2 separate regions of the Homo sapiens genome follow, and region 1 is linked to region 2. Evidence: promoter capture Hi-C in human tissues and cell types (Jung and others, 2019). All regions are on one chromosome and are shown on one strand. The core of a region is centred on a gene start or on the middle of the fragment in contact, and the rest is flanking DNA. Distances in the headings are between cores, read along the strand shown.

Region 1 (3,429 bases), core at 565-3,064, 470 kb after region 2:
CTCTAGTAAAAATACAAAAAATTAGCCAGGCGTGGTGGCGGGCGCCTGTGGTCCCAGCTACTCGGGAGGCTGAGGCAGGAGAATGGTGTGAACCCAGGAGGCGGAACTTGTAGTGAGCCGAGATCGCGCCCCTGCACCCCAGCCTGGGCGACAGAGCGAGACTCCATCTCAAAAAGAAAAAAAAGGAAGGATAGAATTAGAAAACCATTAACCAGGCGTGCTGGTCCTAGCTACTAGGGAGACTGAGGTGGGAGGATTGCTTGAGCCCCTGAGGTCAAGGCTACAGTGAGCCTCTATTGCCACTGCACTCCAGCCAGGGTGACAGAGCAAGACCCTGGAAAGAAGAAAAGAAAGAAAGAAAGGAAAGAGGAAAGGAAGAAGGAAAGCAAGCAAGAAAGAAAGCAAGCAAGAAAGAAAGAGGAGAAAGAAAAGAAAGAGAGAAAAAAGGAAAGAAAGAAAAAAGAAAAAGAAAGAAGGGAGGGAGGGAGGGAAAGAAAGAAGGGAAGGAAGGAAGGAAGGGAGAAGAAAGGGAGGGAGAAAGGGAAAGAAAAGAAGAAAAGAAAAGAAAAGGCCAGGTGCAGTGCCTCATGCCTGTAATCCCAGCACTTTGGAAGGCCAAGGTGGGCAGATCACCTGAGGTCAGAAGTTCAAGACCAGCCTGGCCAACCAACATGGTGAAACCCTGGCTCTACAGAAAATACAAAAATTAGTGGGGCATGGTGGTGGGCACCTATAATCCCAGCTACTTGGGAAGCTGAGGCAGGAGAATCGCTTGAACCCAGAAGGTGGAGGTTACAGTGAGCCGAGATCACACCACCGGACTCCAGTCTGGGCAACAAGAGCAAAACTCCATTAAAAAAAAGAAAGAAATAGGCCAGGCGCAGTGGCTCACGCCTGTAATCCCAGCACTCTGGGAGGCCGAGACAGGCAGATCACGAGGTCAGGAGATCAAGACCATCCTGGCTAACACGGTGAAATCCCATCTCTACTAAAAATACAAAAAAAAAATTAGCCAGGCGTGGTGGTGGGCGCCTATAGTCCCAGCTACTCAGGAGGCTGAGGCAGGAGAATTGCTGGAAACTGGAGGCGGAGGCCGCACTCCAGCGGCGAGAGAGTGAGACTCCATCAAAAAAGAAAGGGAGGGAGGGAAGGAGGGAAGGAGAGAAGGAGGGAGGGAGGGAGAGGAGGAGAGGAGAAAAGAGGGAGGGGAGGGGAGTGGAGGGGGAGAATAATTTGTAACCACTAATGAAATAGCAGGTCCTGGCAGGGATTTCCAATGGCTGCTAATATCACAACATCAGGCTCTGTGGGACTCTTTCCCTCTCCATGAAGTTGCACCCACCCTGTGGTCATCTTCTTGCTAAAAAAATCAACCTGAATGAGATTAAACAGACCAGTTTGGACATTTACACCTAGAGCTAACTGACTATAGGAAATATAAGGGTTGAGGAACGTGCCACATCAACCACAAGGACGAAATCAGCAAAATCCAGACAGGTGGAACCCTTTGGAACAAAAGACCTGCCTTCTTCCACAAATAACCTGAAAGGAGAAAAATGAAAGAGGGTAAATCCCGCGGTTAAAAGAGATTTAAGAGACATAGTGGCCAAGTGCAATGATTGGAAACCAACCGTTAAAAGAAATTTAGGTGGGTCGCGGTGGCTCACGCCTGTAATCCCAGCACTTTGGGGGGCCGAGGCGGGTGGATCACGAGGTCAGGAGATCGAGACCATCCTGGCCAACACGGTGAAACCCCGTCTCTACTAAAAATACAAAAAAAATACAAAAAAATACAAAAAAAATACCCCGTCTCTACTAAAAATACACCAGCCGGGCGTGGTGGTGGGCGCCTGTAGTCCCAGCTACTCGGGAGGCTGAGGCAGGAGAATGGCATGAACCCAGGAGGCGGAGCTTGCAGCGAGCCGAGATCACACCACTGCACTCCAGCCCGGGTGACAGAGTGAGACTCCGTCTCAAAAAAAAAAAAGAAAGAAATTTAAGGCTGGGCATGGTGGCTCACACCTGTAATCGCCACATTTTAGGAGGCTGAGGTGAGAGGATCTCTTGAGACCAGGAGCTTGAGACCAGCCTAAGCAACATAGGGAGACCCCATCTCTACAGAAAGTTTAAAAATTATCTGGGCATGGTGGTGCACGCCTGTAGTCCCAGCTACTCAAGCGGCTGAGGTGGGAGGATTGCTTGAGCCTAGGAAGTCGAGGCTGCAGTGAGCTGTGATTGTGCCACTGCACTCTAGCCTGGGCAACAAAGCAAGACCCTGTCCCCCCAAAAAAACAGACAAACAAAACAACAACAAAAAATTTAAGACAACCAAGGAAATTTGGACATTAGATGATACTAAGTATCGATCAATAATTGGTGGGTGGGGGCATGATACTGTGATTTTTTTTTTTTTTTTTTTTTTTTTGAGATAGAGTCTTGCTCTGTCACCCAGGCTGGAGTGCAGTGGCTCAATCTCGGCTCACTGCAACCTCTGCCATGTGGGTTCAAGCAATTCTCCTGCCTCAGCCTCTGGAATAGCTGGGATTACAGGCGCACGCCACCATGCCTGGCTAATTTTTGTATTTTTAGTAGAGATGGGTTTCACCATGTTGGCCAGGCTGGTCTTGAACTCCTGACCTCGTGATCCGCCCGTCTCGGCTTCCCAAAGTGGTGGGATTACAGGAATGAGCCACCGCGCCCAGCTTGTGGTTGTTTTTTCAAAAAGAGTCCTAGGCTGGGTGCAGTGGCTCATGCCTGTAATCCCAGCACTTTGGGAGGCCTAAGCAGGAGGACCATTGAGTCCAGGAGTTCAGCCTGGGCAACATAGTGAGATGCTGTCTCCAAAAAAAACACAAAAGCAAACAAACAAAAGGCCATGGAGGAGGCCAATCCCCAGCTGTGCTGAGCCAGGATCAGATTCTCTCAGCCCCTTTCAGCAGCACCTGTCCTCCTCTGAGTCAATATATTGCTGTTGCAGCCGGGCGCGGTGGCTCATGCCTGTAATCCCAGCACTTTGGGAGGCCGAGGTGGACGGATCACCTGAGGTCAGGAGTTTGAGACCAGACTGACCAACATGGAGAAACCCCATCTCTACCGAAAATACAAAATTAGCTGGGCGCGGTGGCGCATGCCTGTAATCCCAGCTACTTGGGAGGCTGAGGCAGGAGAATCGCTTGAACCCAGGAGGTGGAGGTTGTGGTGAGCTGAGATTGCGCCATTGCACTCCAATTGGGCAACAAGAGCGACACTCCATCTCAAAAAAGAAAAAAAAAAGAAAGAAAAAGAAAAAGAAATATGGAACATAAAAGTTACCATTTTAATCGTTTAAAAGTGTACAGGCCAGGCGCAGTGGCTCACACCTGTGATCCCAGCACTTTGGGAGGCCGAGGCAGGCAGATCACCTGAGGTCAGGGGATCAAGACCATTCCG
Region 2 (3,864 bases), core at 1,001-3,500:
GCCACCTGCCCAGCCGCCGGGCGGAGGGAGCAGGCTCAGGCACCGAGACTGCTGAGCCACTGGCCACCCGGGAAGCAGGCTGCGTTCTGAGTCGGTCACCGAATATGTCCCCCCTTGGACGGGAGTAGCGCAACGATGTGCAGGCCAGCTCAGGAAGTAACGCTGGGAGCTTCTAGAAGGTGGAGCGGGATCCAGGACCGTGGGAGCTTTTCCGGAGAAGCCTACCTCTCCTGTGTTGCAGCTGATGGGAGCAGCAGGGCCTGGAGAAGAACTGTCCCCAGGCTGACTCCCCTCTTGGAGTGAGGAGGCCTCCCGTGTTTGCCTGCCAGCCTCCATCTGTCATCTTGGTTCCAGCCATTCAACTTTCCTCCAGGCGAGCAGAGCTGCTCTACCCCCACCTGCTCCGTGTTGGCCCCAGACCCAACTCAGGCCAGTGGACGTCTGTCCTAGGGCTGCGTGTGAGATCGGTGGGTGCAGGGAACACAGCAGGAAGCTGGCCTAGAAGAAGGGGGTCAGGGTCAGTGGAGATGCTCCTACCTTCAGGTAAATGCCCTCATTTGTTAGGGCCAGTTTGAGCGAGCTTTCTGTCATTTACCACCAAAAGAATCCTAGAAAATAAATACACAGGGATCTACCCCCAAACACTGGAGACAATAAAGAAAAAGGAAGCAGCCAGGGCCAGTAGCTGGAAGGAAATTCAGCCGGAGGAGAGGAGGCGCGGGGCTGTGGTGGGAGGGAGGCAATGCTTCCTGAATCTTACTTCCCTGGTCTTTCCATCGGCCTGAGCCCGTGCCAGTCTGGGGATCTGCCGGCCAGCCAGCACAACTGCGTCTCCCCCAGGGGCCTGACTCGTTGAAGGAATGAATGAATGAATGATTTTGCAGGGATGGGAGGCTGGGAGACTGAGAGGTTTCATTAAACGGAAACGCTCAGATCTGGTGTTTCACAACGTAAAACAAATAATTCCTCTATGTTAGCCTAATTTATGTAAATATTTCTCCACGGGAATTGTACCGGGAGACCTGTGTGCCAACTCGGCCAGCTTCCCCGGCAGAATCTCCCCTTGGGAGGACCCTTAAGCAGGACCCTTCCTAAAAATTGGAGGCAGCTCTGACTCCTCCATTCCTCCTACAAGGTTCCCCCACCCCCTAGGGCTTTCCACCGCATGAGAGTCCTCCGGGCCCCTCGTTTCCTACTGCCCTCGACCCTTCCTTCCCGAGACCTCTCTCTCTCAGTAAACTGCCTCCAACGAGAATCTTCTGACGGCAGGAGGGTCCTCCCCGTCCCTAAGGGTCGCCCTGTCCCCAGGCCTTCCAGCAGGACACTCCCCTGTCCCCTCTCCAGATCCTCCTTCCCAGGGCCCTCCTCCAAGATCCTCTTCCCCAACCCTCCTCTCCCAGGGTCCTCCCCTCTCCAGAATCCCGGCCCCAAGCCCCCAAGCGCTGTCTGCCTGTCTGGGGTCCTCCCCAGAGTTCACCTTCTGCAGGATCCTCCCTCCAAGTCCTCTCCTCACGATGCTCCCCCGAAATCCTCCTTCTCCAAGTCGTCCCCCACTCCAGGGCCGAGCTCTCTCCAGGGTCCTCCTGCAGCACCCCCTCCCCCAGGGTTCTCCTCTCTGCCCCGAGGGGCCGGCCGGGGGGTCGCCGCCCGCCCGGCGGGCTTACCTGCGAAGCGGCGGGGTCGGGGCCTCTCCCACCTGTAAGCCCGGCCCGCGGCGTCCTGCGTCCGAGCCGCTCCCCGCCCCGCAGCGCCAGGCCGCGACCCGGCGGGCCGCCCGCCCCGAAGTGCCACTTCGCGAAGTGCCGCCTCCACGCGCGCTGCCGCCGGCGCCCCCCGCTCTCCTCCCCGCACCTTCTGCTCCTTCTTCCTGCGCCACCCCGCCCCCGCCTCCCCGCCCCCAGCCCGGCTGTTGCCCGGGCCCCCTCAGGCTGCTCCCAGGGCCCCAGCCCGCGCCGCGCCTCCCCTCTCCTCCCCCAGGATCGACGCCGCCGCAGACCAATCGCTGCCTGGAGTCGGCCACTAGGCCCCACCTCCGATCCCGCCCCCCTCCCCCTTCTCCGGAACCCACCAATGGAAAGGGCGGTGCGGGGGCGGGGCCTGGCGGTTGCCTAGCAGCGGCAGCGCCGGGCGGGGGCGGGTGGTCGGGGGCGGTGATGCGGGCGCAACGGGGGCGGGACGCAGGGGCGGGGACTGCCGCGGGGCGGGGCCTGAGGCGGCTATAAAGGTGGCCGCCGCCGGACGCCGGGCTCTGTGGTTCGGGTCCGCTTTCGTCTCCGTCCTGCTGCCGTTACCGCCGCTGCTGCCGCCGCTTGCGTCCCCCGCTCCGGTCTGTGGTGCAGCCGGGACCCAGGACCATGTCTCTGTCTCGCTCAGAGGAGATGCACCGGCTCACGGAAAATGTCTATAAGGTGAGCGCCCCCCGGCGCCGAGCTGAGCCCGCTCCGTGTGCGCCTGGGTCGCGCGCCGCCCGCGCGCCCGAGCCCGACCAGGGCGGCCCCGGGGCCGCGCGCCGGGCCAGGAGGCTGGGACTTTGGGGGTCTTCCCGGCGCGGCCACCCGGGACCCGGGCTGCTGGGGTGGTGAGCCCGGCGCCGGCCGCTCACAGGTGGCCACCCCCGCCCGGGCCCCCCCATCCCATGCGCGCCGCGGCCCGGTCAGTCCCCAGCCCCAGGCCCGGGGAGCACTCCCCGCTCCGACGGCCCTGCTCGGCCCCCGCGCGCTCGCCTTGGCGTCGGCGGGAACGGAGCCGCGCGCCGGGCCCCGGAAGCCCTCGGACCGGTCGGGGTCGTAGCACACCCGGGCAGGGCCGGGGCGGCGGGGGCGGCGGGCCCAGGGGTTGCGGCGGCCAGGACGGCATGGGGGCTGTCTGAAGGCCGCGGTCGGCGCGGTGGCACCGTGGGGCTCCTCCAGGCGCGGTTGCGCGAGCCTCGGGCACTTCATTCTCAACAGGCTTTCCCTTCCCACAACTCCTGCCCGGCGCCCATGCTGGGGCCTAAGGTGGGAGGTCGGAGCGCGGGCAGGCTGGATGGGTGGACGGATAATCTATCATCTTATGTAACCGCGGAGAGAGAAGACTAATTGTGTAGGAGGCTGACGTGCCTGCCTTTGCTTCAGATGTGTTAAGAGTGGCATCCACGTTCTCGTCTGCGAAATGACAGGTTCACATCCAAGGGCCGCAGAGCACCGCTGGAAGCCTCCCCTGCCGCCCCCTCCCCAGTCGTTTTTGTGGCTGGGATACCGACAAACAGGCCCTTGGTTTTCTCTTTCTTCAGCATCCGTTCTCGGTCCAGACCCCCACGCCTGAGCCCGGCAGCTGCCGGGGAGCATTTTCTCAGAGGAGAAACCCCTGCTCTGGGTGTCCCTGGGTCCTGGGCGATCTCTTACAGATGTGCTTTGTTTCAAAACTGTCTGCAGGTTCAGTGACAGGCTGGGCGATGAGTGGAGTGGGTATTTACCCGGCAGTCGCTGGTTCATGTTTCCTAACCGGCTTGCACCCTGCCCGGCAGAGTAACTGTTTCTGATTGTGGTAGGCGGCCAAGGCGTGCCTGGCCAGGGGCCTGGGAAGCCCTCTTAGCTCTCAGGCTTGGGAGAGCCAGATGGAGGCTTCAGGGGTGGCCCCTCTGGTTCCAGCTGGAGTGCAGGGGGCCGATTGCACTTGAATACAGCTTTCAATAAAGCTTGTGAAGTTGGGGCCGCGTCAGTCTGGAAGGTTTCTGAAGGCGGGTGTGCGGTCGACTAGATGAGTCCTAAAGCCACGTCGGAGCCACTGGGAAACAGGATTCAGGGTGACCTGAGGAGTCGGCTTGGGAAAGGCACAGGCCCTGGGGTTGTTAGGTTTGGTTTCACAGAGTCTGTGGCATACGGT

Evidence for each region. Contacts are between HindIII fragments. The study calls those that stand out against the background at their distance.
Region 1: a contact is called between a fragment that was not itself captured here and the fragment with the promoter of BAIAP2 in region 2, in 1 of the 25 tissues and cell types used here (dorsolateral prefrontal cortex).

The regions. Positions count from the first base shown.
Region 1 is chr17:81,503,395-81,506,823 of GRCh38, forward strand. No RefSeq gene overlaps it. Among named protein-coding and RNA genes, the nearest start is that of ACTG1, 7.7 kb to the right of the region's middle. The HindIII fragment of the contact is 9,311 bases long and covers 1-3,429 here.
Region 2 is chr17:81,032,901-81,036,764 of GRCh38, forward strand. It overlaps BAIAP2 (BAR/IMD domain containing adaptor protein 2), which reads left to right and starts at 2,251. Exons shown (of 14, transcript NM_001144888.2): 1 at 2,251-2,408. The coding sequence starts at 2,355. It overlaps BAIAP2-DT (BAIAP2 divergent transcript), which reads right to left and starts at 1,819. Exons shown (of 2, transcript NR_026857.1): 1 at 1,665-1,819; 2 at 1-498. RefSeq lists a silencer at 1,887-2,196 and an enhancer at 2,068-3,063. The HindIII fragment of the contact is 14,233 bases long and covers 1-3,864 here.